2 separate regions of the Homo sapiens genome follow, and region 1 is linked to region 2. The links are contacts of gene promoters, found by promoter capture Hi-C in human tissues and cell types (Jung and others, 2019). All regions are on one chromosome and are shown on one strand. The core of a region is centred on a gene start or on the middle of the fragment in contact, and the rest is flanking DNA. Distances in the headings are between cores, read along the strand shown. Region 1 overlaps SIPA1L2 (signal induced proliferation associated 1 like 2). Region 2 holds the start of TSNAX-DISC1 (TSNAX-DISC1 readthrough (NMD candidate)).

Evidence for each region. The method cuts DNA at HindIII sites, captures the fragments that hold promoters and counts their contacts. A contact is called where the count stands out against the background at its distance.
Region 1: a contact is called between a fragment that was not itself captured here and the fragment with the promoter of TSNAX-DISC1 in region 2, in 1 of the 25 tissues and cell types used here (hippocampus).

What each region holds. Positions count from the first base shown.
Region 1 is chr1:232,618,000-232,623,796 of GRCh38, forward strand. All of the region lies in intron 1 of SIPA1L2 (signal induced proliferation associated 1 like 2), which reads right to left. Among named protein-coding and RNA genes, the nearest start is that of SIPA1L2, 9.2 kb to the right of the region's middle. The HindIII fragment of the contact is 3,951 bases long and covers 1,914-5,797 here.
Region 2 is chr1:231,526,966-231,532,740 of GRCh38, forward strand. It overlaps TSNAX-DISC1 (TSNAX-DISC1 readthrough (NMD candidate)), which reads left to right and starts at 1,688. Exons shown (of 16, transcript NR_028393.1): 1 at 1,688-1,861; 2 at 2,290-2,394. It overlaps TSNAX (translin associated factor X), which reads left to right and starts at 1,704. Exons shown (of 6, transcript NM_005999.3): 1 at 1,704-1,861; 2 at 2,290-2,394. The coding sequence starts at 1,846. TSNAX-DT (TSNAX divergent transcript) reads right to left here and starts at 1,591. Exons shown (of 3, transcript NR_173106.1): 1 at 1,455-1,591; 2 at 373-450. RefSeq lists enhancers at 971-1,792, 1,261-2,460. The HindIII fragment of the contact is 13,165 bases long and covers 1-5,775 here.

The DNA.
Region 1 (5,797 bases), core at 2,639-5,138, 1.1 Mb after region 2:
AAATAAAGCCAGACCTAACAACTGTGGGATCCAGGAGGTGGGTACAGAGGTGTCCACTACACCACACAATATTTTCAGCTTTTCTGTAAGATTGCAAATTTGCATGATAAAACGTTGGGGGAAAGTATATGGTGATTACACTGAGATTTACTGGTTTAAATAAATCTCAGAAGTTTAAAGCAGAACGCAAATCTTACCCAGCACTTACTGTTAGTTCATGAGACATAAGATAGGAAGTGGACTGAAGGAAGGGAGCATCAGCAGCAAACGAACAACACCCCAGAGACCTGGGGGCGGAAGGGATGCTCAGGCGAGGCGAGCTCTTTTTGTCCACAGACATCCTTCCTAATGTCGCCTCAGTTTAAAACTCTTGTGGCTGGGCGCGGTGGCTCACACCTGTAATCCCAGCACTTTAGGAGGCCAAGGCGGGTGGATCACAAGGTCAGGAGTTCGAGACCAGCCTGACCAAGATGGTGAAACCCCGTCTCTACTAAAAATACAAAAATTAGCTGGGCATGGTGGCGTGCGCCTATAATCCCAGCTAATCAGGAGGCTGAGGCAGGAGAATCGCTTCAACCCAAGAGTCGGAGGTTGCAGTGAGCCAAGATTGCACCAGTGCACTCCAGCCTGAGGGACAGAGTGAGACTCCATCTCAAAAAAAAAAAAAAAAACTCTTGTTACTCCGCATAATTTTAAAATAAATCACTTCAGTGTATCAATTATCAAGTTATATATTCCTAAGTATAAAGTCTCAAAACAAAACACATGACCTTGAGTTGCAAATATAATACTATGTGTATATTCTGTCAACTAACTGAAATGAATTCAGTAATTTTATACCAAAACGTCATTTATATCTCTGTATATCCAAAGTAATTTTTCCTTTAGTTTTATGACACAGTCTATAACCTTCAGTAAATTACAGTGAGGAAAAAAAACATAATGACCATCTTACGTGATAGACAAAGTAATTATCACCACTTTGAAAATACTGTCCGTCACTTCTCCTTAATGTTGCTTTTGTTAATAAAATGCATCTCTGGAGTTGCAAAACCTAAACCAGGCAAAAAGATGAGTTTGTATTTAAGCAGATCATTTTAATAGAGATAGTACTGTGATCAAAGGAACAACTGAGAGTGTTCTGTATGTATCTTCTGGTCTTGGAGAGGGCCTACAGTTTCCCTGCACACAAGAGGCCCTCAACAAAAACTCAAATCCTAACCATTTTCCAAAGCTTAACTCAAGTTCTATCTTCCTTGAATGTTTTCCTAACCATGCAAACCCACCTTATTCTCAGCTAACCACACAGTCTTTCATCTGAAAGAAGCTGTAGCGCCCATCTATCATATGGTCTCATTTACACAGGAATCTTTTTCTAATACACCTGACACATAGCCATCAACTCTGCCCAAGTTAGTTAGTTCATCACCTAAGAAGGCAGTGCATTCATCACCTAATAAGGTAGCCCATGCTACTACACAATAGCTCTAGTGATTAAATCATGCCCTCTGATAGTTCTGAATCAGTAACATCAGGAAGTTTAACTAGAAGAACACTCAAAGTCCCTCCGAGGACTAAATTCTAAGAGTCAGTTAATTTGCTGACTCTGCCTGACAGCTACCCAGGACGGGATGGAAGGGATGGAAGGACAAGATCCCTGTCCTCAGGGGTCTCACACCCTAGGGTGCCCCTGTTAACTTGGAAATCTTAGAATGCCAGCATTTAAAAAGACTTCAAGATGGCATGGTCCCACATCCTTATTTTAAAATTGGATTATAGTCACTGCCCCAGAAAGCTGAGGGAGTTAGACAAGGCCATGGAAGAACCCCTTATCCCACTTGTATCATCTGCAATAGCAGGATATTCTACTCTGCTCTTAAATGCTCCAAATAGATTTTTTTTTTAAGATGGAGTCTTGCTCTCTCACCAGGCTGGAGTGCAGTGGCGCGATCTCAGCTCACTGCAACCTCCGCCTCCCGAGTTCAAGCGTTTCTCCCGCCTCAGCCTCCTGAGTAGCTGGGATTACAGGCACGCGCTGCCAAGCCTGGCTAATTTTTGTATTTTTAGTAGAGACGGGGTTTCACCATGTTGGTCAGGCTGGTCTTGAACTCCTGAACTCATGATCCGCCCGCCTCAGCCTCCCAAAGTGCTGGGATTATGGGCATGAGCCACCACGCCCGGCCAGATTTTTTTAAATTACCATTTTTCTCCGTAGTTTTACCTGTTCCAAAAAGGAAGAAGATAAAAGTTCACTTTTAAACACACTAATGCTTGCAGGGATGACAAGGAAAGCAAGTGCATATTGCCAGAACCCTGTTCCATGAAGGTAGGTGTCTCGATGTACACTTCTCTCCACCTTCCTCAACACCTCCCAGGGTGCTACAGCAAGGGAAGTACAGATGTGCTAAGCCTTTGCTATTGGAATAACAAAGAGCGTAGTAAGATGAAAGCAGTGTCTCTTGAAACTCTCCTAGGGCCTTGTTCCTCATTCCATGCACATATCCTGTGCCGACTCAACATCCCCTCTGCTCCACAGCTTATCTCAGAAAGAACTAAGTTACGGTGCCAAGCTAAGAGGATGAATTTAGAAAGCTTCACATAACCAGACGCACAGCGACAGCAGCCATCAGACATCACCCAGATTTAACTGCCCTAAAATTAGCAGTCAGAGCAAAGTAGTTACTGCAATGATTGCGTCAGAGCTATTCTGACTGGCAAACTGCCAGTTTTAAACAAATTGTCCTGCTTTCTCTACCAGGGAAACAATATTTTGGAACAGAGCCAGCTAAGCATTTCAGTGAATGTTCAAATTCTAGCTTCTCTATTAATGTTGTATAATTCAATGACAAGGTGAACAAAGTCTACATAGGCTACATCTGCAAGGGTGTTATTTTCTTTGTTGTAAGCACTTATTCTTTGGGTGAGTAAAGTACTGTGGATGAATCCTTTTAAATATTTAAATGCCTGAAATGTATTTAGGGATTCACATTCAACTGGCTTAAACAAAGATTATGCAAATCTAGCAAAATATAAATGCAAAACAAAAATTGTTTTCCTCTTATATTTCTTTTAATCTTGGCAAAGACTCGGGCTAAAAAAAATGTTCTCTGCATGATCACAGAAGGACCCACTCACTTCCCAACAAAGAATATATAACCTGATTCAATCAGTAAAACTGCTACCTCACCACAAATTACAAAATTTCTAGTTAATAACAGACAATTCACTGGCTGAGAGAACAGGGCAGTTTTTAGACCAGAACAATGAGCTCATTAGCCCAACCCTCAGCCTCCACTTCCCCCTTTCAGTGATAGTGAGTCGGTAATTCCGCCATTCTTATATGCACACACCTTCTTTAGTTCCCTCCCTCTCTCCCTTCTTCCTTTCTGTCTTTTCATTCTTTCCTTTCATCATGATTTATTGAAACCTACCATACCTTACAAGTGAGCTGTAGAATAAAGAACACTATAGCTGGAACCAAGAGAAATGGGTTTAAAACATAAGGACTCAGATTCAGAAAACCACACTTTCATTAAACCTTAGTTTTTGTATCTGTAAAAGGGAAAAAAATCCCACCAGCCTTATAAGGTTCTCGTTAAGTATACATGAGAGAACACAAATGAAAGTTCAAGCACGGTAACATTTTACACTCGCCTTTAAGAATATCTCTCCCCAATTCTTTATTCTCTTCATAAATCAACATTAGTCTCCTTCACTTATTCTTGTCATTTAAAACATTTTTTTTTTTTTGTGACAGGGTCTCACTCTGTCACACAGGTTGGGGTCCACTGGCACGATCAGCCCACCGTAACCTCGAACGCCTGGGCTCAAGGGATCGGCCCTCCTCAGCCTCCCCAGTGGCTAGGTCGACAGGTGTGCACCACCACACTCGGCTCATTTTAAAATTTTCTGTAGAGATGGGGCCTTGCTTTGCAGTCCAGGCTAGTCTCAAACTCCTGGGCTCAAGCAATCCTTGCCTCAGCCTCCCAAAGCACTGGGATTACAGGCATGAGCCACTATGCCCAAATTAAAACATTTTAAATGGGAAAAATGACCTATTATTCCAAACAAATGAGTTACAACGATCCTCAAATAAAATTGGTTGATAAATTGGATGCTTCTACTATCATGTATGCCTTGCTTACAGCACTTATCACAGCATACCTTATACACAAATGTAAACAAATAGGAGTTAGAATGACATCCCTCTAATGTCATATTATAAGAACTAGCACTACGTTAAGATATTAAAGATAAAAGACTTTTACCATATAAAATTAAGACTATGGCTACTGAGCACCTACCACATTTAAGGCATAAATAATATCCTCATGTACTGAGTCAACAAAAGATGCACTATACAATACTGATGGGGTTTTTAAACATCATGATTTCCTGTAGAAATGAACCCTGCTAATGGACTGAGAGCTAAAGGACTACAGACAGTACTACACAATTCAGAAATCCTTTCTGTTCAGTAAGCTTGATTAAGCCCCAGCCAGGGCTTTTAAGTCAACTGCAGCCTCATGGGATTCAAATAGGGCTATGCAGGCATCAGCACAGATGAGACTTTGAAACCTGGGAAAGGTGTGAATCATACTCTCTCATGAAAGGCGGCCACCTAAGGGTGCCCAGGCTCCCAGGAACCACACCCCTCTGAATGGGGCTATAAAGTTCTTGATGTAACAGATGGAACACAGTCCCTCTTCAGAAACTTCCACATTTTTACCAGTTCCATATCAGAGTTCAATCACAGGTCATTTCAAACGACCCAGGAAAGGCATAAATGAGGTATAAACTGTTGTTCAAGATAGATCATGTACAATAGAAATAATGATTAGAACTTGCTCAACAGTATTTAGTTCAACAAAAGCCAAGATAAAGGAAGTTCTTTTACGTTCAACCCACAACTCCCAATCATTTCTTTAACAAATATTTGTTTACTGTGAGCCTATTATGTGGCAAAAACCACCTAAGTGCAGGGAATACAGCAGTAAACCAGAAATGTCCCTGCCTGTTTGCTGCTTATGTTCCATTATTAAAATCGAACAGGAGGATGGGTGGGGGTGGATGGTGCTCGTTTAGCTGGAAGTTACTGGAGATACAAGAGCAGGGCTCCCTGCTGTCTCTCCTCACTCATTCCCAACCCACTAACGGCTGGGAAGCCAGGCATTCCTTGCACTACGGGTGGCTGTGTGCTACAGTTCTGGCCAATCACATACAGACAGAGCTAGGCTGTCAATCTGAACTTTTAACATACCCTGATCCTGGGAATGCTTTCGTCTGAGTGTGATAGTATGATGCTTCTTAAACAGCTGAGTTCAGAACAGGCACAGTGGCTCACGCCTGTAATCCCAGCACTCTGGGAGGCCGAGGCGGGCAGATCACGAGGTCAGGAGATCGAGACCATCCTGGCTAACATGGTGAAACTCCGTCTCTACTAAAAATACAAAAAAAAATTAGCTAGGCATGGTGGCAGGCACCTGTAGTCCCAGCTTCTTGGGAGGCTGAGGCAGGAGAATGGCAGCAACCCAGGAGGCAGAGCTTGCAGTGAGCCAAGATCGCACCACTGCACTCCAGCCTGGGTGACAGTGCGAGACTCTGTCTCAAAAAACAAAACAAAACAAAACAAAAAAACAGCTGAGTTCAATTAGAAACTTTCTAAGGAGAATAGCATCGCCATTACATTAACCTCCTACCCCTCAATAAATGAAACCCCAAACCAAGACCCACAAGCAATTCTGGAAGAAAACAGGCCAAAGTCAGAAATGTCTTCGGGAAAAAGAATAAATACACA
Region 2 (5,775 bases), core at 438-2,937:
TTGGGATGTGCTACTCCAGGAGAGTTAGGAAAAATACCCTTTTCCTCGACTATGGTACAGTACAGTAAGTATTGACTCTGAAAATGTTCGTAAGTACTGGCTTCCTTGGATCTAGAGGGAGTCACATTAAAATGGCTACATTTGTATCAGAGCTGTCTTTTATTCTTTTTGGCATGGTCAAGTCATTTCTAATCAGAGTAGGGGGAATACTGGTAGATCAGACGTCACTCAAACTCATGAGAATTATCTGTTTAACATCCACAAAGCAAGTAGCCCAACAAGCAAGGTCCCCAGGAGCCTACTTTATCCTCAAGGAATCTGCTTAGTCAATTGACGTATTCACAGGGCTGGAGAGGTATGAGTGGTGGTTACCTTCGTGCCAGAGCAGAACATGCCTTGTAGTTACTGCCATATTCTAGCCAAGTTACTCCATTTACTGTTCCTTTGTTCCTAAATTAACAAGGAGAAAAGACTGTGTGTTCAACACATGACCACAATAGAGAGGTTATTTAGAGAAAGCTTAAAATGTACTTGTGTTTTCTGTACTAGGCCTAGGGCACCCCAGTTATGAAGCCTTGGCCTGAGTTTCTCTCTAGACGGTGCTGAATTGCCATCTAGTTACCTATTCTGACACCAGGAACATGATTCTTCAACAAACATTGACGGAAGCTTACATGGGACCGGATCACAGCGCTGAGAAGCACTGGGGCTAAGGGGCGGCACAAAGTCTAGATATGGTGGCAGCACCTGCTCATAATGAAATGCCCACAGTTTAGTGGAACACAGCTGCTATTACTCACCTGTCTATCATTTTGTTTGGGAGAGCCCTGGTGGGAGAGGAGTATGGTATTTAATATTTAATTGAGCAGTTATATGTGAAAGAGCGTTTTCACGAGACTTAACTCCTTTCATCCTCAAATAACCCTACAAGGCGGGTACTATTCTATCCCTATGTTACAGATAAGGAAACTGAGGCAGAGAAGTTGCGTGCTTCATCAAGGTCACACAACCACTCCGTGGAGGCAAGTTGAACACAGGCTGTCCGGCTTCTGAGAGCCAGTGGAGAGGAGGGAGACGGTGGGAGACGGGCAGGGGGAAAAGGTGGAAGTAGACCCGAAGGGCAGGCTTGATCTTCATAAGAGAAAACAGTACTAACACCATCCACTGATTGACTCGCATATTTCCATCACTTAAAGCTCCTGGCGTCACTGCCAGGAATGGAAAGTTAAAAAACTCCCAGCTCTGTAAGGTTCTGCCTGGATCCTGAAAAAAACCTTCCCACATGCCCCGAGGAAACTCGAGGGCTCGCTTCTTTCTCACATCCCTGGCCCGGGGCACCGGAGGTCCCGCTCCGGCGGAGGAACTACAACCCCCACAGCACCGCGCGCGAAGCTGGGCCCCCCTGAGGGAAGGGTAAGGTGTCCCGAAGGTGCCTTCAGAAAAAAATTACGTACGTTTTTCGTCGCTTTCCCACGATCACACAGATCTCAGGTCCAGGAGGACGCATCGTCTTTTTAGTAACAGTGCATGCTGTGAGGCTTGTAGAGTCGCCTCTCTCTTCAGGCGCAGCAGAGGGCGGCCGCAATAGTACGCTCGCGCGGCGGTGGCGGGTGGTGGTCCTTGGACCACGCGGTGGGCGGAGCCAGCGGCGACGGCCTCCCCTCCCCTCCGGACGCAGGCCGGAAGTACGTGAGAGGAGACTTCCGGCCACTGCGTTGTAGTCGGCCCGGCTGCAAAGCGTTTTTCTGCAGGCTGTTTTCCCAGGTTCCCTCGGCCTGTACCTCGCGCACTCCTCTTGCTCCAGGTCCTTCAGTCTCCGCTCGTCTCACCGTAGGCTGTGACGACATGAGCAACAAAGAAGGTGGCGTCCTTAACAACACGGGGCGTTATTTATCCGGAGGGGGAGGTTCTCCAGTCTTTCTATGCAGTTTTCCCCTTTTCACCCTTGAAGGATGCCTTCGTCCCTTGTAGACTCGGGGGCGGCCCCTCTGTTTCTCTCCCCGGCCAGATCGGCCCTGTTTACACCTCCTTTTTTCTTAAATTTTTGAGGTGTGATTTTATCCTAGTTCAGTAATTGCTGTAATGCCAGATCATAGCACCAGTTGGTGGAAACTTGGATGATTTGCTTGGAAAGGCCTGGGCAGCGTCTCTGTCAGTCTGCGGAGAAAGCCTCTAAGGCGAGGGCCCTGTGGGTATCTGGTTTTAAAGCAAGGAGTAGGTTTGTCTATGTTGTGTTTTGCAAACTCTTGGTGATGGAAGATCCCTCTCTTTTTTTCTTCTCTATATAAGGATCAGGAGGGTTCAGGAAAAGGAAGCATGACAATTTCCCACATAACCAAAGAAGAGAAGGGAAGGATGTTAATTCATCTTCACCCGTGATGTTGGCCTTTAAATGTAAGTTCTCTGCAATGTAAGTTGAAGAAGGGGAGAGAACAAAATTATTTAGCCATGGTTATGCGCAAGAAAACAGTCCCTAAGAATTTAATGTGAAACTTTAGCTGGAGGTTTTGTGATGGCGCTAGATGTACCCTAAAAGTCTGGATTACAAAGGCCTTCACTTTTATGTCCCATTAAGAGAAATATTAGTAATCAGGTAAACATGACTTAAACACAAGAAACAGTAAACATTAATTAATATTTGACATGTCACATACTCAAGAATTGTGTACCTGATAATATTTACTCATCTGTTATATGCTAAAATATATTTTCATTTAGTGTGTATTTGTTTCCTCTACTAGACTTGAAGACAGGGACGGTATCTTTGTTTTAACTGTAACACTTAGCACAGAGTGGGAGCTTGTATCTATTAGTGAATCTCGCATATCTATATACACATATTTTCACAGTCCCCTTTTCTCAGCATATTAACTTGGACAAGTTATTCCTCAATTCAAAACAAACACAAAACAAAATCCTCTTCCTTTTGTCCCTGTCTATCCACTATCCTGTACCTTACGTTTCTGTGATTAAGGAATCTGGGAAGGGCTTAGCTGGTTGATTCCTATTTGCAATCACCTGAAGCCTTGATTGGGGCTGAAGGATCTACAGCTGTTGATAGTTTAGGCCTTTTGCCTGCAACCAGCTCTCTGTTCCTGTCCACATGAACTTCTTGTGCTGCTTGGATGTCCTTTGGTGTGGCATCTGGCCTCCTTCAGAGAGAGAGAGTGCAAGAGAGCAAGGAGGAAACCACAATCTCTATGTCCTAATCTCAGACATCAGACACTGTCATTTTTGTCACATTGTGTTTGTTAGAAGGGAGGCAGTTTTAAAAACTGTCTCACATTGAAGAGGAAGGAAGTTATGTCCCACCCTTTGGAGGGAGGAGTCTCAGGTTATTTGTGGATATATTTGAAAACCACCACAGTATCTACTGTGATCGTCAGAAGTTTAAGACAGCTGGCCGTAATTGAATAAAGAGCGTACTGATACAGAAGGTGGAGTTGCGGCTGGGTGTGGTGGCTCACGCCTGTAATCCCAGCACTTTGGGAGGCCGAGGCGGGGGGATCACGAGGCCATGAGTTTGAGACCAGCCTGGCCAACATGGTGAAACCCTGACTCTAATAAAGTACACGGTGAAACCCCGTCTCTACTAAAAATACAAAAAATTAGCCGGGCGTCAGTAGTCCCCACTACTTGGGAGGCTGAGGCAGGAGAATGGCGTGAACCCAGGAGGCGGAGCTTGCAGTGAGCCGAGATCGTGCCACTGCACTCCAGCCTGGGCAACAGAGCGAGGCTCCGTCTCAAAAAAAAAAAAAAAAAAGTACGAAAAATTAGTTGGTCGTAGTGGGAGGTGCCTGTAATCCCAGCTACTCGGGAGGCTGAGGCAGGAGAATCGCTTGAACCCGGAACGCGGAGGTTGCAGTGAGCCGAGATCGCGCCTTTGCACTCCAGCCCCGGCGACAGAATGAGACTCCATCTCAAAAAAAAGAAAAGGTGGAGTTGCTTCTAAGGTGGTGTCCTCATTACCCGTCTGCTGAACTACAGTTTTTTGGTTTTTTTTTTTTTTTGAGACAGAGTCTCTGTCACACAGGCTGAGATAATAATTAGGCACGATCTTGGCTCACTGCAAAACCTCTGCCTCCTGGGCTCAAGCCATTTTCCTACCTCAGCCTCCTGAGTAGCTGGGACTACAGGCGTGTGTCACCATGCCTAATTTTTTTAAATTTTTTTGTAGAGACAGGGTTTCGCCATGTTGCTGGAGGCTGGTCTTGATCTCCGAGCTCAAGCAGTCTGCCCGTCTCGGCCTCTCAGAGTGCTGGGATTACAGGCGTGAGCCACTGCGCCTGGCCTGAACTACAATTTTCTTTAAGACCTAGCTCAAGTAGCCTCTTTCCTGTGAATGCGTTCTGATTTTTCTCTCAAGCCGACTTGGTGACCAACATGAAATATTTATTGAGTATCTGCTATGTTCTCGCATGTATTAGTAGTGAACAAGAAACGTGGTTTCTGCTTTCATAAGTTTTTTACATATATTTGTTATAGCATGATTACATTTTATTTGTTTACATCTCTGTCCCTCATACAGGACTGAGCTCCTTGAGGATAGGAATTGTTCCTTATCTAACTTTGTGTTCATAGTGTCTGACTTACAGTGGTCATTAATATAGCCATAATAAATAATGAATACATATTGATTATCTTAACCCTGGCCTAGTTATTATCTCAGTAATAAAAGACTAGATATATTTAGATCCATGTCAGCTACTAATTTAGTTAATAGTTTAAGTTCTTGTTTTTTCAGTTCGTGCAATATACATGATTGGGTGTTTCCTATAGGCCAGGCAGCTTGCGGGGCTGTGGAGTGAAAAGACTTGGGAAATAAAGGCGTTATTAAGAGAGTTAAGTGGTTTAAGGGTATTTCAAGGTACAGAGCTTGATAAATTCAGGAAGTTTATACTTGAAATTTGCTAAGTAAGTAGATCTTAAATGTTTTTACCACAATTAGCTGGGCATGACAGCATGCGCCTGTAGTATGCTTATAGTCCTGGCTACTCCGGAGGGGCTGGGGCAGGAGGACTGCTTCAACTCAGAAGTTTGAGGCTGCAGTGAGCTGTGATTGGGCCACTGCACTCCAGGCTGGGCAACAGAGACCCTGACTCAAAAAGGAAAAAAAAAAAACTAACTGAGGTGATGGATACGTTAATTAGCTTAATAGTGGTAATAACACACACACACACACACACACACACACACACACACACACACACACACACACACAGTTTTGGTTTTTTTTTTTTTTTGGAGACAACGCCTCACCCTGGCCCAGGCTGAAGTGTGCAGTGGCGTGATCTTGGCTCACTGCAAGCGTAGCCTCTTGGGCTCAAGTGATCCTCCCACCTCAACCTCCCAAGTAGCTGGGACTACAGGCATGTGCCACCACACGTGGCTAGTTTTTAGATTTTTTTGTAGAGGCAGGGTCTCACTGTGTTGCCCCTGCTGGTCTCGAACTCCTGGGCTCAAGTGATCTGTCCCCCTTGGCCTCCCAAAGTGCTGGGGTTACAGGCATAATCAATCATGCCTGGCCTTATAATTTTTAATTGTCAGTTATACCCCAGTAAAGGTGGAAAAGCAGGAAGACAACAGGGAAAAAAATTTTAATAAACTTGAAAAAAAAGGTCCAAGTTTCTTTTTTTGGAGGTGTTTATATTATTAATATATGTGGTTAAAGTAATTTTTAAAACTTTATGTAACTCTTTGTTACGTGTCATTTTGTGATAATCTCTTGTTTACTAAGTTCATTTTTTACAACTTGTACAGTATTCCCATTGTGAG